7 separate regions of the Homo sapiens genome follow, and regions 1, 2, 3, 4, 5 and 6 are each linked to region 7. The links are contacts of gene promoters, found by promoter capture Hi-C in blood cells and fetal thymus (Javierre and others, 2016). All regions are on one chromosome and are shown on one strand. Each heading gives the region's core, a stretch centred on a gene start or on the middle of the fragment in contact. The rest is flanking DNA. Distances are from core to core; before and after follow the strand shown. Region 1 has its middle 7.2 kb from the start of LINC02725. Region 2 has its middle 26 kb from the start of LINC02725. Region 3 overlaps LINC02725 (long intergenic non-protein coding RNA 2725). Region 4 overlaps LOC107984374 (a long non-coding RNA gene). Region 5 overlaps LINC02725 (long intergenic non-protein coding RNA 2725). Region 6 overlaps LINC02725 (long intergenic non-protein coding RNA 2725). Region 7 holds the start of ETS1-AS1 (ETS1 antisense RNA 1).

Region 1 (2,944 bases), core at 67-2,566, 440 kb after region 7:
TTCTGACAAGGGCTCAGAAGAAGAGGAGAGATATAGGGAAAAACTTGCCTTTTTAGACATTATTTAAGTGGTCATGAAAAGAATGTTGGTAGAAATATGGAGAGTAAAGGCTATTCTGATGAGATCTTAGGTGGAAATGAGGAACAAGGTATTGGAAACTGGAGATACAACCATCCTTGTTAAAAAGGGGCAATGAGCTTGGTTGAATTATATGTGACCTAGGACCCTGTGGAAGGAAGAACTGAAGAGTGATTAACTAGTGTATTTGTCAGCAAAATATCTAAACAACAAAGCACTTAAGATGCTGCATGGCTTCTTTCAACTGCTTATAGTAAAAGGGAAGAAGGAATAAATAATTTAAAGATAAAATTTATAATTAAAAGAGAAGCAGATTGTAAAGATTTGGAAAATTAGCCTGGCCATGTAAAGAAAAAAAAATGTGTGCTTAGGAAAGGAAATCAAGGATGTAGACATGAGATCATTTTATAAAAAGATTAGTATAAATAGAAGAAAGCCATGTACTATTCATAACGAAAGTAGTAGAATGAACTTAAAGGCATTTGAAAGATCTTCCAGGCTGCCATGCGCATCACAGGCCCAGAGTTCCCTCACCTTGGGGTCAGAATAGTTTGGGGAGAGGTTCCTAGGGTGCTTGTGATACCTTAGCTCTCTGTTCTCTGTATTCCAGTGTATTACTTCTTGGCCACCCTAGCTGTGGTGCAGGTGGGCCTAGGTGTGACTTGAGATGTGACTTAAGGGCACATGCCTTAAACTTTGGCATCATCTATGTGGAATGCAGAGCACACAAGCTGTGGAAGTATGGCTGCCTCTACTTACACTTCAAAGAATATCTCAGACAGCCTTCCTGAGGCAGAGAACTATATAGCAGAGGTGGGGGCTCCAAATACAGTCCATGCTAGGACAATGTCCAGAAGAACTGTGGGGTCAGAACTATCCCCAAGGCCTGTTAACTATAGAGCCACCAACATGCAACTCCTGCCTGGGAGGACTGTAGACACCTAACTATCTCTGAGAGCTGTGGCATGGGCTGCAGTCAGTGAAGCTGTAGGGGAGGGGAGCATCCCCACCCATGTGTGTCCTCTTGGTGGGACATGGAGTTCAAAAAGACTATTCTCTAGCCTTATCATTTAATGTTGTTATCCCTGTTAGGTTTTAAACTTAGTTGGGACCTGCTACCTCTTCCTTCTTACCTATTTATTCCTTTTGGAACAGGAATGTCTATTCTATGCCTGTATCACCATTGTATTTAGAAGTACATAACTTGCTCATTTCACAGGCCCACAGTTTAAGAGAAATTTGCCTCTGGATGAATTGTTCCTTGAGTCTCACCCATTTCTGACTTACTTAGATGGAAATCTGGATTTTAGACTTTTGAGTTGATGTTGGAACAAGTACAGACTTTTGAGGCTATTTGGATAAAGTGAAGGTGCATTGCACGTGAGAAGGACATTAGTGGGGGAGGGCAGGGAAAGAATGCCATAGTATGAATGTGTCCCTTATAATTCAAAATTCATCTCTTGAAAAAACTCTCCAATGTAACAGTATTAAATAGTATGGCCTTTTGGGAGGTAGTTAAGTCATGAGTGCCACACCTTCATGAATAAATTAAAACTGTTATAAGAGGGCTTCGTGAAGGGAGTTCATTCCTTTTTGTCCCTCTGCTATTTAAAGACTCAGTTTTTCTCACCTCCAGAGGACACAGTAACAAGGTACCATCCTGAAAGCAGAGATAACAGCCCTCACTAGACACTAAGCATACTGGCATCTTGATTATGGACTTCTCAGGCTTCAGAACTATATTAAAAATTATGATTTTATAAATTATCCAGCCTCAGGCATTCCACTGTAGTAGCACAAAAAACCCCTAAGACACCCAACAACCAACAATTGGAAAATGAATTTTTAAACAGCAATTCTATTTACATCAGCATAAAAATTTAATACCAAAAAAAGTCCTTAAAACACATGCAAGAGGTGAAAAATAAAATAGTGCTGAGAGAAATAAAAGAAGACATATATAAGTGGATTGATATATCATGTTCATAGGTCAGAAGACAGTATTATCAAGAGGTACATAATGTAGAATGCACATATTGATTGATTTAACACCATTCTAATAAAAAATACTACTTTTTTTTTTAGATGGAGTGTTACCCAGGCTGGAGTGCCATGGTGTGATCTTGGCTCCCTGCAACCTCTGCCTCCTGAGTTCAAGTGATTCTAGCGCCTCAGCCTCCCAAGTAGCTAGGATTACAGGCACCCGCCACCAGACCCAGCTAATTTTTGTAGTTTTTAGTAGAGCCAATGGGGTTTCACCACGTTGGCCAGGCTGGTCTCAAACTCCTGACCTCAAATGATCTGCCCCCTTAGGCCTACCAAAGTGCTAGAATTACAGCCATGAAGCTCTGCACCCAGCCAATACTAGCATTTTGATAAGAAAACTTATAATTTATTTAGGAATTCAAAGCATATATAAGAACAGAATAATCTTGAAGGTCGAAAGAACAACTTTGAAGAACTTTATCTTATTTTCAATTCAATATAATGCCATAGTAACGAAGACACAGTTACTATTGGTAGTATTGGTGCAATATTACATAAATGGATCACTGGAATTGAATAAAGAGTCCAGAAATAAAGCTTCATATTTATATCTAATTGGTTTTCGACAAAGTTGTCAACTCAATAAAGAAAGAAAATTATTTTTACCATATTTTACGGAAGGACTGTATTTTCATTTGTAAAAATAAAAATTGTAATCCTGAACTCACTCCATATACAAAAGTCAATTTGAAATAGAGTGTAGTTCTAAATGTAAATGCCAGGTCCATAGATGACAGAAATAACATTAATCATAAAAGAAAATACTTGAGGGATGGGCCAATACGGCAGACTAGAAGCAGCTCACGTGAGCTACTTTCAT
Region 2 (2,802 bases), core at 177-2,676, 460 kb after region 7:
TCCCTGTTCTGCTCTACTTTCCAAATTGCCTTTTGATCAGATTTGTGGGCAAAGCTCAATACTTGAGTGGTATTTTCTTTCTTAGTGTTTGTCTCCAAAGTCTGTATTAATAGAAAATGAAGCAACAGACAACAATGCCTGGAAATGCAGGTGTCTCCATTTTAATAGGAGGCATCTGAGCAAAATCTCTGTGAAAGAACTGCCTGACTTGCTTCCAGGCCATTGTGAATATTTTGGTGGGAAAGCCTGCTTTGAATTAGGGACGGAAACATGCATATTCTTATATCCCCTCTCCTGACACCTGCCTAGGATTCACTGAGAGAGAATTACTAAGAAAGGAGTGATGGCCAAAGACCATGCAGGCTTTGTTGCTGTGGTAAAGTGGTCTTTTCTGTCTGCTCCAGATGTGGGCAAGAAAATACAAAGAAGTTTAAGAAGATTTAGTTTAAATAGAACTGGATTGATTCCAAAAGGCTTAATGTTTGCACAAGAGAATCCCAAATCAGATCTAAAACATAATCACTGCTTGAGTTCTTAGCCTTCCTATTAGCTATTAGATTCTGCTAATTATACTCTAAAGTGTGAGGAGTGTTTGCTTTGTTTCTTGAATCAAAGCACCAGTCTTTCCTAAAATGCATTGCCAACTTATAGCCATTTTCAAACTATTCAAGTGAGTCGATGGAATCTCTCTCCAGAGACAGTATTGCAAAGTGGTTGTGAACATAACCTTTGGGCTAGAAAGAGCTGAATTTGACTAAGAAATCTCTACTGACTTTGCGTAAATTATTGAACTCCCCATTGCCTCAAAAGTGAGGATGAGAAGTGTATCCTAAGAACTAAATGTTATAAGGGATAAAAAGTGCCTAGTATAGAGCCTGGTACATGTTGAAGTACTGTAGGATGATCATCATTATCTATGTGTTGTTGCTTAATTCTAGTAAATATATGATAAGTATTTGATATAGTACATACATGATCCATTCTGAATTGCTAGACTGATCCCTCAGCCAGGAAATGAAGGCATGAAGCCTTTATTTATTTATGTCTACTATAGTCAGTTACACAGCTAGAATTTTGTATCGCAAACCCCTTTGAAAATATAATTAAAGCCATTGATTCCCTTCCCCCCAAAGAAAAAATACAAGTTATAAAAACAGTACCAAGGTACAACAATGCTCTTAGCAGCACTATTCACAATAAGCAAAGGGTAGAAACAACCCAAATGTTCATTGCCAGATGCATGGATACATGAAATGTAAATATATACAATGGAATCAAAAATCATTCCATTAAAGGAAGGAAATTCTGACACATGCCACAACATTGATGAACCCAGAAGGCATTATGCTGCGTGAAACAACCAGACACCAGAAGACAAACACTGTATGGTTTCACTTACATAATGTACCTAGAGTAGTCAAATTCTTAGAGATAGAAGTAGAATGGCTGCCAAGAGCTAGGGCAGCAGGAAATTTGGGATTATTGTCTAATCAGTACAGAATTTCGTTTGAAATGCTAAAAATATCCTGGAGATGTATAATCATCATGATTCCATAATAATATGAATGGGCTAAATGCCACTGAGCTGTGTACTTAAAATGATAGAAATGGAAAATTTTATGTTAGGTGTATTTTTCCACATTAAAAAAAATAGTGCCAGAGATTTCTGGTTTAGGAAGTTTAGAAGAAGGCTTATGTTTTTTGATTTCGTTTTTTTAAATCAGCTTTATTGAGGTATTTTTACACACCATAAAATTTACCCGTTTTGAGAGAACAATTAGGTCAGTTTTAGTAAATTTATAGTTATACAATTATCCCATGATATGGTTTGGCTCTGTCCCCACCCAAATCTCATCTCGAATTCCCACGTGTTGTGGGAGGGACCTGGGTAATTGAATCATGGGTTCAGGTCTTTCCTGTGCTGTTCTCATGATAGTGAATAAGTCTCATGAGACCTGCTGATTATATAAGGGGGAGTTTCCCTGCACAAGCTCCCTTCTTTTGTCTGTCACCATGTGATAAGTGCCTTTCACCTTCTGCCATGATTGTGAGGCTTCCCCAGCCACGTGGAACTGTAAGTCCAATTAAACCTCTTTCTTTTGTAAATTGCCCAGTCTTGGGTATGTCTTTATCAGCAGCCTGAAAACAGACTAATACAGCAAATTGGTACCAGTAGGGTGGTGTGCTGCTGAAAAGATACCCAAAAATGTGGAAGCAACTTTGCAACTGGGTAACAGGCAGAGGTTGGAACAGTTTAGAGGGCTCGGAAGACAGAAAAATGTGGGAAAATTTGGAGCTACCTAGAGACTTGTTGAATGGCTTTGACCAAAATGCTGATAATGATATGGACAATGAAATCTAGGCTGAGGTTGTCTCAGATGGAGATGAGGAACTTGTTGGGAACTGGAGCAAAGGTGACTTATGTTTTAGCAAAGAGACTGTTGGCATTTTTCTCCTGCTCTAGAGATTTGTGGAACTTTGAACTTGAGAGAGATGATTTAGAGTATCTGGTGGAAGAAATTTCGAAACAACAAAGAACTCAAGAGGTGACTTGGGTGCTGTTAAAGACCTTCCGTTTTATAAGGGAAGCAGAGCATAAAAGTTCAAAAAATTGCATCCTGACAATGTGATAGAAAAGAAAACCCCATCTTATGAGGATAAATTCAAGCCAGTTGCAGAAATTTCCTTAAGTGACGAGAAGCCGAATGTTAATCACCAAGACAATGGGGAAAGTGTCTCCAGGGCATGTCAGAGGTCTTTACAGCAGCCCCTCCCATCATAGGCCCAGAGGCCTCAGAGAAA
Region 3 (2,700 bases), core at 173-2,672, 350 kb after region 7:
TAAAAATAAAGCTAACTTCTATTTTTTTTTTTTTCCCCCTGGGGTAAGTGCTGAGCATATTTTCAGAGACTTGAGACTAAAGTGCAGCATCGGGCATTATTCTCAGTCTCACAGCGCCACCTTTTGGCCCATGTTCTCCCTTGTTTTCTGAAGGTGAAATCCAGGCAGCTGGTTCCTGGGGTGATTTTTACAATCCTACTTTCTTGGCTATGGCTTGACATAATTTCCCTGGAGAGTTCAGTCTTAGGGTATGATACTATACCTTGGATCTGCAAAGCATTAAAAGGGAGGATATTGTCAGATATATGATCTAGCCATGGACACAGGCCAGATGCATTCGTAACTGAAAGAGAAGGCCCTCTTGTCTGGTCCACTCCTAACTTGTTTGATTTTGCTGCTATCTATCAGCACCTTCCTTACTAATGCAGGATGGCTCAGTTAATTTCTTTCTTTGGTCTTCCAGTTATGCTGTTGAGAGCTTGCTCATGGCCATATATAAGAGGTGACAACAATGGCTTTTCAGAAACAATACCAAGAGAGCAATAGAAACACTTTATTTACCCACAGTGTAAAATGGGCTGCAACTAATTATTTACAGATGGGGCAAGCTTTGATAAATAGATTGACTGATTAATGATTTGGGTTATATTTCTGACATTAACTCAAACTGGACTTGGGCTTAGTTTCAAAATAAAATAAGCCTATCTAGACCAACCTGTTGGTGCGAACTTTAAAATGGCCAGAGACAATCAGATAGTGCTTTATTCCTAGGGGCTTATGGTTGGAAACCTTGAAGGAAAAATTAGCTGAATTATCTACAGTCAGGTTGAGTGCACGCCAAAGCCTTAGAATTCTAACTCTATTGTTTTGGCTGAGTTTCTACCTGCCCCTGCAGCTAGTCAATTCCATGGAAACATGACTCATACTGTTTGCCATCATGTAACAAAAATAAACAGTGGTAGTTCTCCTCTTTAGGTTTTTCAAGCACAAATTTTGGCTTGATTGAGGCTTAATCGAGGTTGACGACACTGTTAGAGCACTTCTTTCATTCTGACTTCTAAGAAGGAAATAGTGAAGAGAAGTTAGAAATAGACACTCTAATTTCTACATATATATATATATATATTTTTTTTTTTTTGAGACGGAGTCTCGCTGGGGCACCAGGTTGGAGTGCAGTGGCGCGATCTTGCCTCACTGCAAGCTCCGCCTCCTGGATTCAAGTGATTCTCCTGCCTCAGCATCCTGAGTAGCTGGGATTATAGGCACCCGCCACCACGCCCGGCTAATTTTTTGTATTTTTAGTAGAGACGGGGTTTCACCGTGTTAGCAAGGATCGTCTTGATCTCCTGACCTTGTGATCCGCCAGCCTCGGCCTCCCAAAGTGCTGGGATTATAGGTGTGAGCCACCGCGCCTGGCCCTAATCTCAATTTTTAGCTTGCATTTTAGTGGGCGCGTTAGGGAAGACATTTTGGTCAGAGCAGTCAATCTCTTCTACTTACAAAAGTCCTGTATATCCATCACCCCTCCATGCCAAATTTTATTTACTCCAAAAAGCCATTCTAATTTCTTCAACAGTGCCTTGTCCTCACTTTGAATCTCTTTAGTTCTTTTTCCTTATAAACATTTTCCTGGGCAAGAAGATGGAAATCTCCGCACCATGCCGGACTCTCCTTGCTGTTTTGCTCCTAGTAAGCTCTCAATAAGAGATTTTTAATGTAAAACTGTGCGAGTACTTAGTGGCAGAAGCACAAGCGCTCTTCCAAAACTGCAACAGCATAGCAATATGGTGCACATGTCTGTGAACATACAGCTACCACCCCATCGACAGCTTCTCTTTCTTTTGCTCAATTTCTTTTTTTTTTTTTTTTTTTTTTTTTGAGATGATGGAATCTCTCTCTGTCGCCCAGGCTGGAGTGCAGTGGCCCGATCTTGGCTTACTGCAAGCTCCGCCTCCTGGGTTCACGGCATTCTCCTGCCTCAGTCTTCCAAGTAGCTGGGACTACAGGTGCCCGCCACCACGTCCGACTAATTATTTGTATTTTTAGTAAAGACGGGGTTTCACCGTGTTAGCCAGGATGGTCTCGATCTCCTGACCTCGTGATCCGCCCGCCTCGGCCTCCCAAAGTGCTGGGATTACAGGCGTGAGTCACCATGCCCAGCCCTCAATTTCTATGCTGTAGCCAAAGCAGCTTTAAAACAAATTTGAACTTGTCACTTTCCTGCTTTCAAAGCTTCATGACTCTTTCTGGCCTCCTAGACTCCGAATTCCCTAGATGGGTCTACCAGGCTTGTACTGTCTGTCCCCAAACCCCCTCTGTAATCTCACTTTCCTCCATTCCCCCATGATTCACACTTCTGTCTACTTTGAATTTCTCTGTTGTTATCCCTTTCTGAACTACCTCTCCCTCCATTTTCTGCCTAGTAAACGTTTCTTCATTATATAAGACTCCCTATAAAAGTTCGCAAATTTCTTTAGGATTTTCCAAAGATCCAAGACAGAATAAGTTTCAACTTTCTCTGGGATTTTATATAGTTTTGCTCATTATTTTATTATAGCATCTACTGAGTCTTATATTAAAATTCTTCACCTATACTAAGTCATGTACTAGATCTAAGAGTCTTTAAGATAGGGATCTTACTGATTTGTTTTGGTCTTCAAGCTTAGTATATAATACATAATAGGACTTTCATAAGTGTGT
Region 4 (2,731 bases), core at 62-2,561, 470 kb after region 7:
GGGCAAAGAATGTTTTGAGTGAGGAAAATAAATGAAATAGCAATTGAAAACAGAAAAATCCAGTAATGATTTCTTTATTACCTGAAATACTTGAGATTTTTCAATGTTTTCACTCTCAACGTTTTCAACAATTTTCAGAACTAAAGGTATTTTAAAACTTGTATTAACTGTTGAAGGCTACTTGAGGATGCATAGGATTGAAGCACTGGTAGGTGTCTAGCTTAATAGCACATCTCAATAGCACATCTTGTATTTATATAATACAGCTTGAGGATTTCAACAGGTCTCTCAAAATGACCCCCTTCAGCAGCCCAGTCCACCTCCAAGTGCCCTCTTCTAAACAACTGAAAATAAGCAGGAAACAATTTCTTGTTATCGCTGGGAAAGAGATAGTTCTATTTCCCGAGTAATCGGTTTCCATGCATAAACAGCAAGAAAATATTCTTTTTGCCATTCTGAACCTAAATCACTCTTGCTGTAATTTATGATCATTTTCTCATATTCCATATTAAATAAAAGTGGAAAATAGCTCACTATTTCTTTTATTATAAGATTGTAGTTGACATCAGTAGATAATATCCATTCGACTGTATTCAGAGGAGTGGAAGGACAGGTGATTTTATCTAACATGGAACCATAGCCCCCAAATATGATGGAGCTGAGTAAAATCACTTGGTGGCCTGCCAGGAATGACACCACAGAAAATGTCATCAATGGTAATAGCAACAATAATATCTAGCTCCTCAACAGCATTTTATAATTTTGGAGAATATTTTCACATAAATCATCACATTTGATAGCCTTTTAAATTTTTATTTTAAAATGTATTTAACTTATTGAGAACTCTTACCTCACAATCATGCAAGCCACTTAAAATTTCCAGAAAGAAAACATAAATTTCCTATGAACTCAGCACTCTTCCCTGTTTGTCACTTTTGCTTTTGTTTCTCATGGATTTCATTCTTCTCTTCTCCAAAGTATTTCATCCTTATTTTGGTTCTTTCCTGTTCTCTTTTGCACACTCATCCGTCTGATTTCCAAGAACGTGATTCTCTTCTTTTATGTTTCCCCCCAAGGAAATGAAAGAAGAGTTTTGAAGAGACAGCTGCCCTCCATGCTCACGGCAGCATCATTCAAAACAGCTAAGATGAAGAAACAACTAAAAAAGTCTGTTGAGAAATGAATAAAGAAATACAATAATTTGTTTTTTTCTTCTTCCCACTTTCAACTTGTGAGACCCCATCACTGCCTTTTGGACTCTTGCTTCTTTTCTGATTCATGTTCCTGTTCACCATCACCTGCCCCACAGCACCCTCACAGGAAAAGAAAAAAAAAAGCCAAAACAAAACCGATCTCTTTGTTCACTGGATCAAAAGTCTTTTATTATAGTGCATTCAGACATTCAGAATACATATATGAGGCCTGCTATTCCTCACATGTTTGAGGGGAAGCAAGTAGTGTTTTTTACTTTTATTTTCTTTTGCCCTTGTTACTACCAAAACTACACACACACACACACACACACACACACACACACACACACCCTGTGTGCATGAATCTGCAGAAACTATTTTGTGAGTTCCTTTTACTATTTTACTGAGACATAGCATTAGTCTCACTTGTTGGTGGAAAATATTTGTATTTATCAAGGAACCTGACATCAGAAACCAGCTGGTCAATCTTACTTGCTTTCTAGTTGAGTCAACTCTATGTTGTTGAAAGGTCATAGGATTTGGGGAAAAAAAAGACAAAGATTTAGGCCAAAAAGACCTGTCACTCACTGGGACATGGATCAGACACTGAGTCCTCCCTGGGCACCAGTCATCTCTTCTGTGGAAGGGAAACCCTGCTTTCTGCACTGCCTCTCTCATGGTGATAAAAGGAATAATGGGATCGTGAATATAAATGCTTCATAAACTCTGAAGTTCTATAGGTTAAATTAAATAAGCTGGAGGCCACTAGCCTGAGTCTGTCTCCATACTTTGAGTTCCTACGTAGCAAAGTACAACCTAACTTAGCACTTAAACCTAACTTAGGAGTATAATAAACAGAAGTGTTTCAGCCAGTCACAGGCAGTCAACTCATCATACCGTACTCAAATAAGGCAGACATCTTAGCTGTGGCCAATAAAATGATTCTTCTACTTTACTTCTGTGTCTGCCAATAAAAGCTCGCTGCTCACTCTCCTAAAAAAAAAAAAAGCTCTCTGAACCTCTTCTGATTCTTAGAGTTGCCTGACGCCTGAATCATTTTTTGCTCATGTAAATTCTTTTAAATTTAATTTGCCTGAAGTTTTTCTTTTAACATATGCCTGAATATGATTCTTGATCATTTTTAAAGCCCCAAGTTTTAATTTGCAATGGTAGTATATCACAGTGGTCAGGAATATATAGACTTTGAAGGCAAAACGTCTGAGTTTATATCCAGGTTTTGCTGTTATAGTAGTGTGACCTTGCGCAAGTCATTACTTAACTTCTCTATGCCTCAGTTTTCTCATAATAATGGCACCTACATTAAAGGGTCATTATAATCCCATTACTAGTGGATATATGCAAAGTAGTTAGAAAAGTAGTAGGTACTTTATAAAGTCACCTGCTATTTTATTGTTGTTGTTAGTTTTTGTTATTTTATTTATTTTCATAATTTCATTTTTAACTTCTTTCTCTCCAAAGCACGAGCTAAAGATCTTTGTTGGCCTATGTTCAATGCCCACGTCTTCAGGACGGTTGGA
Region 5 (2,700 bases), core at 67-2,566, 390 kb after region 7:
CTCCCAAAGTGCTGGGATTACAGGCGTGAGCCACCACGCCCGGCCATGAATTTCTTTACTATAGAATTTCTCCCATCATTTATGTTAATATTCAGTGCTAATCTCTGCGATAGGAAGTAGAGTGCTTTCTGTGTACCTGCTGAGGACTGTTTGTCAAATAATGACCACAAAAGGTGACCACAGAAAGAGCTAGTATTTCCAAGCATACACTTCAGTAAATTTAGCCCTATGTCTATTTGGAATGATTATTTGCTTATGTTTCTAGAGACATAGCAGAGATTTCCGACATCCTACAAATGCAATTCACAAGACATAGCTGTCGCAGAGCCACCAAGATGTCCTTGTTGGGCATGGAACAGGGCACTTCCTGGGCTCTCTGTCAGGCCTCAACTTATCAAGATAATTGTTGGGGTGAGAAAATCAGTTGAGCGACTACTGCCCTGGAGAGAGTTAGGGAAAGAAGGTGGTGAACCAAGAACAAGTCAAATAGAGCCATATAACTGAGGCCAAGTAGGCAGTGACTGAGTCAGCACTGATTTGCCCATTGCAGGGAGTACACAGGGGAAATCAGCTAATCAGAGCTTCCGGGCAACTCATTACCCTTTACAGTGGAAAGCATTTATAATGGAGGCTTCTTCCCTGACTTTAAATAAAGCGTGTCTTGGGAAAATTACTTTCTAAACTGGGCTGTAATGATCCAACTCCCTATTCAATAGATGACTGTGTCGTTTTAACTTCCACAGGTATTAGAATAGCACAATAATATTCGTGTGGGGAAGGCAAATTGTGCAGTCTATAGAGAGGTTAAATGAATGAAGTCAAAATTGTAGAAGTAATAAGGCAATGTGATTCAATAGGAAAATAACTATTATTTTATGAAAATGTATTGTCTGTAGAGATCTTCAAAGGGCTGGAAATGGTCCTGTTATTCCTATTCAGAAGAGAAACTTTAGATCAATAGTACTCTTTATGGCAAAGAAATTGGCCAGTAGAGGAAAGGGTATAGACATTAAAATAGGTTAGACTTGGGTTTTAAATTCCAATCCATTGATTGTCTTTTCCTTAGCATGGAGGCTAGGACCTGCGTCAAGTCATAAAAAGCCATAAATAGTTACAAGGCCTCAAATAACTTTCATCATGCTCTACCTTGATGCATACCTTGGTTCTTCAGCAATATGACTTGGAAACTTTGTTGTTCTCTCAAAGCCTCAATTCCTCCTCTGAAAAATTGGATTAGTCCTACTTAACTCATAGAGTTCAAAGGAGGTAAATTTTAAGTGTACATAAAGTGTCCAGCAAAATTCTCAAGCATACAATAAGTGACAAAAAAGCATTCACTGAGCGAGTTAGTGGCAGGCTAGGCACATTTTACCCTCTTTGGTAAATTACCAACCATCAATGCTGACATTTTCTTTAAAAGGCAATAAAAGGCCTCCATTATCAATCACTCATGTTCCAGGGAAAAGTTATTTAATCTGAGATGGCTGTATAACTTCAGGTAAGCTATTTAACAACTCTGTTCTTGGCCGGGTGCGGTGGTTCACGCCTGTAATCCCAGGACTTTAGGAGGCCAAGGTGGGCAGATCACGAGGTCAGGAGATTGAGACCATCCTGGCTAACACGGTGAAACCCCGTCTCTACTAAAAATACAAATATTAGCCGGGCGTGGTGGCGGGCCCCTGTAGTCCTAGCTACTCGGGAGGCTGAGGCAGGAGAATAGCGTGAACCCGGGAGGCAGAGCTTGCAGTGAGCCGAGATCGCGCCACTGCACTCCAGCCTGGGTGACAGAGCGAGACACCGTCTCAAAAAGAAAGAAAGAAACAAACAAACAAAAAAAATCTCTGTTCTTCTGTCATGTTTCTTTTGAAATAATTCCATCCCATCTTAGTACAAAATCGATTTGGAGTTAGGAGACCTGGAGAGGATACTCAGCTTCCTGAGACTTTAGGCCAAGTTCCTTAACATTTCTGAGTCTGTTTGCTTGTGCATAAAATGCCTATGATACTTGTCCAATTTATTTCATAGTTATGTAGTCAGGAGCAATTGAGATGAAGTATTTGGAAATCCTAAATTAACTTTGTAAAGCAGGCTATATCTCTAGGTTGATTTCAATGTTGTTTCTCCAGCATTGGAAGAAGAGAGTTCACAGGTCTCTACTGTTGGGGGTCCATTAGGGTGCAAAGACTTTGCTTGGGAATTAGGAGATCATGGTTTTCATTCTAACTGTATCTTCCTGTGCTATCTTAGACATTTAATTTTATCTCTTTGTTCTCCATTTAATAAAAAAATTGTTCCCCATATGACAAAAGAAATTCAGGGAGTAGAAGAAAAGAAGATTTGATCTCGACTCTCCATTCTAAAAGTCTAAGAATATTACAATCCTTCTTTTCTGTTGGCATTCTAAAAAATGGAGTCAACATTTGTAGGTCTAACTGGATTCAGTTGTTTATAGAGCGATACCTGCCAGAGGCATATAGTGTAGTTGGATAATCCTGCTGTATTTCTGTAAAATTACCTTTTTCTTTCAGAGGAAACAAAAGCACAGCTTGGTCTCTTTTTTTTGAAAGAACCTTTTGTCTCGCATTCTTGTTGGTCAGATACCAGGTGCCAAGAAGCAAGTGATCCCAAAGGAATTTCACTTTGGCACCACCGAGGACAAAGGGGTCATTTAAAAATTTCACAACCATGGACAGGCTCAGC
Region 6 (2,810 bases), core at 253-2,752, 370 kb after region 7:
GGGACCTCCTATAGAGTCATGCCATTTCAGAAAGGGGTAGGATCTATGACAAGCAACAAACAAGAAGGAGAAGTGAGCCAGCAGACCATAAAGGGTGATTTCACTCCATCTCAGTTTATATTCTGATGATTACGTTCTGGGCAACATCAATTTCTTCCTACTCACCTGCTGGAGGAGATAAACATCATGGCCTGACACATACTCTACCTTTTCAACCATGACTAATCTAAACAGAAACATTCACAAAAGTCCAACCACTTAAGAGGTGTTTGTTGAGGGCATATATTGGGATTTAAGGGTATACAAATATGTGTGCGATATAATCTCTGTTGACTGGTAATTTACACTCCATTTGGGTCAACACCAGTTCCTGAGAACTTAAGCAGTAGTAAAGAAAGGGACCACTATGCAAAGGGGGTTATAAAGGATGTTAATGATGACAACAAAGACCACAACAGGTTGAAAATACATGGATTTAGAGGAGGGTACCTGTGGGCTACAGGGTTTGAGAAGACTCCTAAAAGCATTCTGAGTTGGGTGTTGAAGGTTAGGTAGGAGTTGGCTGGCAAGAATAAAATCCAGTTGTAGGAGTTAATAGAAAAAACTAAAATGTCAGTTGCAAGAAATGCCATGCATGGAGATGAAAAGGTAACATTTCTGGAGCCAGTGGTTCAGACATACATGCTGATGGCTAAATGTGTCTGGGGAGCCTCACTCTTAACTCGATTGGTTTGCTGGTTAGCTGCAGAAATTTGCACTTATTCCTTACTGCCTCTCTTTTATTTATTGTTCTAATCACTGGGCATAATAGGAGCCAGGTCATCGGAGGATGGTGCTGTGACAGCATAATGGGCTCTGGCTTTGAAAATAACATCTCAGTTTCTCCAAGGCCCCTTCTTTGGCAGCAGGAGACCATTAGCTTGTCATTGTCCAGCCCTATTGACATTATCTTTTAATTGCCCCCAAAGACCCATCTCCGAGGCAACATGTGTCTGAGATTTTCGGAGCATTGGAGATTTTGGACTGACATCCCAATCCATTTTATCATTTAACTTCAGAAATTCTAAGGGGAGAAAATGATTAAAGAGTTTAAAAAACTAAGAAGAACATTATGGGAAGATGTACGGAAGGCTGTATTCATGACAACAATTAAAGCCAAAGTAAAGTGGCAAGGAAAGCAAGTTATTCTGCAAGAATTCTAGGAACAGATGTGCATGTCTATATGTAAAGACAAGTACACTGTGTTAAATAGAATATTCAAGACCAAAATCAAATGTCTGAACTGAGTATTTTTGTAATTTTGTATAGGGCATAATGAGAGAAGCGGATGTTGCCAAGTCCTGAGAATATTTGCTGTGCCCCCAACTTTTCCTCGGAGACAGATATCTATGTCTGGGTGGTCTTTTCTGTGGCTCCATTGTTTCTGTCAAGTGTCTAAAGTGTTATTATGCCCAGGAAGATGGCCAGCTGCTTTCTATGTACCCTATGGACAAAATAAAGTAAATAGGCTGAAACAGTGTGATGAGTGTAGGTGAGACATGAAAAAGCAGTTTTGGACCATGCAGCATTTGAAATCTAACAGTCAAAGAAAAGGGACATTTCACTTTGTTAACAGCTGGTGCTGGTCTGGGAAGGTGTAGGTGTAGTCTGGTTGGGACCCTTCCGGGGGTGTGTGAAGGCTGCAAGAGGGAGGGGATAGAGTTTCCGGGCAGTCTAGGCAGCGGTGGGATGCGCTGTCTCTGGATTAGTGACAGAAGGAATCGATGCTGCTGTCAGGGTCTCAAGTCCAGGATGGGAGATGGAATCCCATCCCATGGAGAGGGACTCAACGTCTTTGAAGGTCCTTTCTCTCTAGCTTCAGGCTTCATCACCTTAGCGGCTGTGAGCTTCCCCTGGAAGTCATTGGAAGGAAAATGGACTTTGCATAAATATGTCTTTGTCCATGTGCAGTCTTTGGGCGCACGTCAACAAGGGCAGCAAGGCAGCCATTTTGCAATATGCCCTCCTCCTTGCCTGGCTCTGCCCATGTTTCCAGCTCACAATAATATCCTGGCTGCCGGCCCCTGATGAAAGCCTCTCCGGGCCTTTCCTGCAGCCTGCCTTCTTTCCCTGTTGCCCCTCCTCTCTTTGACATTCCAGAATCCTCTCCTTCCTGTTATTGTCCTGCTCATTTCTGATAAGATTATGTTTGTCCCTATGAAGAGGAATTTTTCTTTCCTGTACATTAATGTTTTTCAAAGACACACTAATGAAAAAGATCTCTATCCTAATGCCAGATAATTTATACTAAGTGTTGAGGGATCTGAGAGAGGAATAGGAGGCCCCAAGAGATGGGGAACCCAGATTCTCCTTTAATCACTTGTGAAACACTTGACGGCCTATCACCAACCTTCTGATTCTGATTTCCAAATGCAGTTTTGTTTTGGCTACAGAGCAAGGAATTGTATTTTACAAGCTGGAGTTCACAGTTCAGCTGCACAGAAGGAGTCAGAAGATGTGAGTTCCAGCACTAACCCTGCATTTGCATTTATTTGCTTACAGAAGGTTTGTGGGCCATATCTAGCCTCGGTGCCCTCATTGTAAAATGGGGACATTATTACCTACCTACCTTAGGGTTCTTGTGAGGGTTAGTGAAATACCATATCAACCATGCTTCATAAACTGGAAATATAAATAAAAGGTAGTTTGATCACCTAAACATATATAAATTGTGACTCAAGATGAGTTGCATGAACTCTAGGAAATAGGCCCCATAAAGAGTGTTAGAAAGTTTAGGCGCTGTCTTCATCCTCATAGTCGGCTTCCAGCCT
Region 7 (2,700 bases), core at 78-2,577:
CTGAGTGTGGATGAGACCTCAGAACCCTCTAACCTTGGGCAGCTCCTTACCTCTTCCTGTCTGAGCCATGTTTGATTTGCTGCAAGAGGAATACGTGTCTAAACTGCTGGATTTTAAAATGTCGCTTGGTCTGTGGATTAGGCCAATCCACCCCACATTGTTGGGGCTGCAGATGCAGTTGAATGGTTCATAATTATAGTCTAAAGAAACTGCAGACAGCAATAGAGCCAACCCAGGCCCTTTCTCTCCTGACAGCCCATGCCAAGCTGTCTCCCACAGGGAACCATAGTGTGGTTATCCTGCAATGTATTTGCCCAAAGACAATACATCCAGTGTAGAGAAGTTGGATTTCTAGAAATTGAGTCTGCTCATCTATCTACTCCCATGTCCATTGTATCCTGTCTTGTGTCTCAAGGGTGTCTGGTACTTCTCCTGCCAAAGTGAAATGCAAAGTAAATGCAAGGAGATGCCAGGGAGAGAACTGCTATCAGGGCATCTGGTTCTAGTACTGACACTGACTTTTTTAGATTGTGTGGCCCTGGAAATAATAATTTCCTCACTCACACTCATTTTTCACCTCTGGTAAATAGGAGTGCTGGACTTGGAGAGCACTGATAAACTCCCATTGAGCTCTAACATGTGACAAATCCAAGACCTAAGGTTTTGTCTCCAAAGAGGCACTACAAATGTGATCTTCTTTCAGAATTTAAACTGTCACTTTTCTGTGACTCAAAACAAATATAAATCTAGTTCTCTTCTCCAATCAGGTAGTTCTCGAATTTCTCAAGTGAGGCTGATGCTGGGCAGGTTGCCAGTTTAAGAACTGAGGAAGGGTCTTGAAGAGATTTTTAAATGAAATGTGGTGATAGTTGTTCTATCTCTCGCTGGAGATCGTTCAGGAAAATTGAGCATCCAAGCTATTCTGCAAAGAGATGGCTGTAGACAGACATTTAATGTGATTTCCCACATATTCTACCGTATACTAGATCTTAATAACAATAATCAAATACTAATTCTCACCTAGACACTGTGCTAAATTCTTTGCATACATTATCTCATTTAATCATTCAAATAGCCTTAAAAGGTGTGTGCTGCTATTATCCCTAGTTGAAACATGGAGGAACTGAGGTTCGGGATTGTTTAAATGACTTACCTGTGGCAATTCAGCTGGCTAGTTGGTAGAGTAAGAATTTGAACCTGAGTCTTATTCCAAAGCCCACACTACTATCCTCTTTGTTTTCTTATATTGAGCTTTCCAGGGCAAACAGGCTCCCAAGTCCTCCCCTCTCCCCCAACCCCACCCCACCCTCCCTTCTTCCCTCCTGACTGCAGCTCCTCCTACCCTCATTGTTTATTGTGCCTTCTAAACAATAGCCAATGAGTCTGTGTTCCATTCTAGGGAGAGCTAGGGCTGATTTTATTCCCTGAAACAGAGATGAGGTTGTGACACAAAAAGGTTAAGTGGCTTTGGTGAGGTCACAGAGCCAGCCTGCAGTCAGCAACAGTACCATCTGAGTCCCCTGGCTTGGGTCCCTTAACTGACCCTAAGGCTTTTTGGCATCCAAGTTTAATTAAGAGAGTTATTTTAATTTTCCTTCCTATCTCTAATTTTCCATTTTATTGCTGCTTGATAATGTAGATATTGAAGTGCCAGGCATTTTTCTTCCCTAGTGTGACTTTTAATGACTAAACTTCTCACATAGAAACCACTTGCCTTAGAAGTAAGCTTTCAAAGCTTGTTTCTGTGTATGACAGAGACTGTTGCCTTTTCTCAGAGAAAAATGAGACCACAAATGCAGCTCAGACAGGTTGTTGTTAATTGAGGGCTTTTTTTTTTTTTTTTTTTTTTCTAAATCTTACATTTATACCAGTAAATCAACATCTGTGAGTCATAAACTGGTTCTGGATCAGCCGTTAGTGGTCTGAATGTTTTTGTACCTACCTTCAGTAAAGCATATTTTAGCTCAAAACTCAGAGATTCTTTGTTTTGTTGAAGTTCAAGACTCAGGAGTAGATAACATGCTAGGACACTTCTGGAGAGGGAAAGTCTGTCTTCCATGATTGTTCAACATTAAGTGTATATTTATATTTCTTTTTTATTGAAGTTGGGGTGGAGTTGAGGGAGGAGTATAAATAAAAAAGAAAGTATGCTTTTTACATACTCCATGTGCTTGAGGAATTCCTGTATGAAGGTGACTATTTTCTTAATATTATTGTCTAGCTCCACTCTTCTGTTCCCCAACTCCTGCGGACTTTTCTTGGCCCTTATTGACTTCACGTTCCTAGTGTAAGGCAATTCAGCACTTGGTAGGATATAATTAGCCGAAGTCTAAGGAATGCTTAAAAATACAATTCTGTTTTTTCCCAAATGCAGGAGGAACAGACTGCTGCAGTACAAGCACAAGCACAGAAGTATTTATTTGATTGATTTTTTTTTTTCCTGAGTGCCTTAAAAACCAGATATGGTATTGAAGTATCTTGCCCAAGTGGATGAAAGGCAACGCTTGGCTGCTGTTGTTTGGCTGGTGGGGACACTGAGGCATACATGTAACCGAGTGGACGTGAGTGCTGGGGATAGAGGTTCTGCTCTACTATGAAGGGAAAAGGGCACAGCCTCTGACACTTTTTAGTTCATCTTCACAAGCCAGAGCATATCAAACTCACTTAATCATTGAATTAGGAAGCCCATAGTGACCAAAA

What was found. The method cuts DNA at HindIII sites, captures the fragments that hold promoters and counts their contacts. A CHiCAGO score of 5 or more calls a contact.
Region 1: a fragment that was not itself captured here is called in contact with the fragment with the promoter of ETS1-AS1 in region 7 in 6 of 17 cell types (naive CD8 T cells, total CD8 T cells, naive CD4 T cells and 3 more); the score reaches 12.6 in naive CD8 T cells.
Region 2: a fragment that was not itself captured here is called in contact with the fragment with the promoter of ETS1-AS1 in region 7 in 4 of 17 cell types (total CD8 T cells, naive CD4 T cells, non-activated CD4 T cells and 1 more); the score reaches 6.3 in total CD8 T cells.
Region 3: a fragment that was not itself captured here is called in contact with the fragment with the promoter of ETS1-AS1 in region 7 in 13 of 17 cell types (activated CD4 T cells, total CD8 T cells, total CD4 T cells and 10 more); the score reaches 35.7 in activated CD4 T cells.
Region 4: a contact is called between a fragment that was not itself captured here and the fragment with the promoter of ETS1-AS1 in region 7, in 8 of 17 cell types (total CD8 T cells, naive CD8 T cells, activated CD4 T cells and 5 more). The highest score is 29.6, in total CD8 T cells.
Region 5: a contact is called between a fragment that was not itself captured here and the fragment with the promoter of ETS1-AS1 in region 7, in 6 of 17 cell types (naive CD8 T cells, total CD8 T cells, total CD4 T cells and 3 more). The highest score is 13.5, in naive CD8 T cells.
Region 6: a contact is called between a fragment that was not itself captured here and the fragment with the promoter of ETS1-AS1 in region 7, in 7 of 17 cell types (activated CD4 T cells, total CD8 T cells, total CD4 T cells and 4 more). The highest score is 11.7, in activated CD4 T cells.

The regions. Positions count from the first base shown.
Region 1 is chr11:128,087,085-128,090,028 of GRCh38, reverse strand. No RefSeq gene overlaps it. Among named protein-coding and RNA genes, the nearest start is that of LINC02725, 7.2 kb to the left of the region's middle. The HindIII fragment of the contact is 2,694 bases long and covers 1-2,663 here.
Region 2 is chr11:128,068,457-128,071,258 of GRCh38, reverse strand. No RefSeq gene overlaps it. Among named protein-coding and RNA genes, the nearest start is that of LINC02725, 26 kb to the left of the region's middle. The HindIII fragment of the contact is 3,058 bases long and covers 1-2,802 here.
Region 3 is chr11:128,169,913-128,172,612 of GRCh38, reverse strand. The region is part of intron 4 of LINC02725 (long intergenic non-protein coding RNA 2725); the gene reads right to left. Among named protein-coding and RNA genes, the nearest start is that of LINC02098, 38 kb to the left of the region's middle. The HindIII fragment of the contact is 1,624 bases long and covers 611-2,234 here.
Region 4 is chr11:128,050,052-128,052,782 of GRCh38, reverse strand. LOC107984374 (a long non-coding RNA gene) reads left to right here. Exons shown (of 2, transcript XR_001748082.2): 2 at 1,077-1,200. Among named protein-coding and RNA genes, the nearest start is that of LINC02725, 44 kb to the left of the region's middle. The HindIII fragment of the contact is 3,278 bases long and covers 1-2,731 here.
Region 5 is chr11:128,135,638-128,138,337 of GRCh38, reverse strand. The region is part of intron 2 of LINC02725 (long intergenic non-protein coding RNA 2725); the gene reads right to left. Among named protein-coding and RNA genes, the nearest start is that of LINC02725, 41 kb to the right of the region's middle. The HindIII fragment of the contact is 4,086 bases long and covers 1-2,700 here.
Region 6 is chr11:128,153,142-128,155,951 of GRCh38, reverse strand. The region is part of intron 2 of LINC02725 (long intergenic non-protein coding RNA 2725); the gene reads right to left. Among named protein-coding and RNA genes, the nearest start is that of LINC02098, 54 kb to the left of the region's middle. The HindIII fragment of the contact is 5,358 bases long and covers 1-2,810 here.
Region 7 is chr11:128,524,769-128,527,468 of GRCh38, reverse strand. ETS1-AS1 (ETS1 antisense RNA 1) reads right to left here and starts at 1,327. Exons shown (of 4, transcript NR_120581.1): 1 at 1,154-1,327; 2 at 51-936. The region is part of intron 3 of ETS1 (ETS proto-oncogene 1, transcription factor); the gene reads left to right. The HindIII fragment of the contact is 5,425 bases long and covers 1-1,728 here.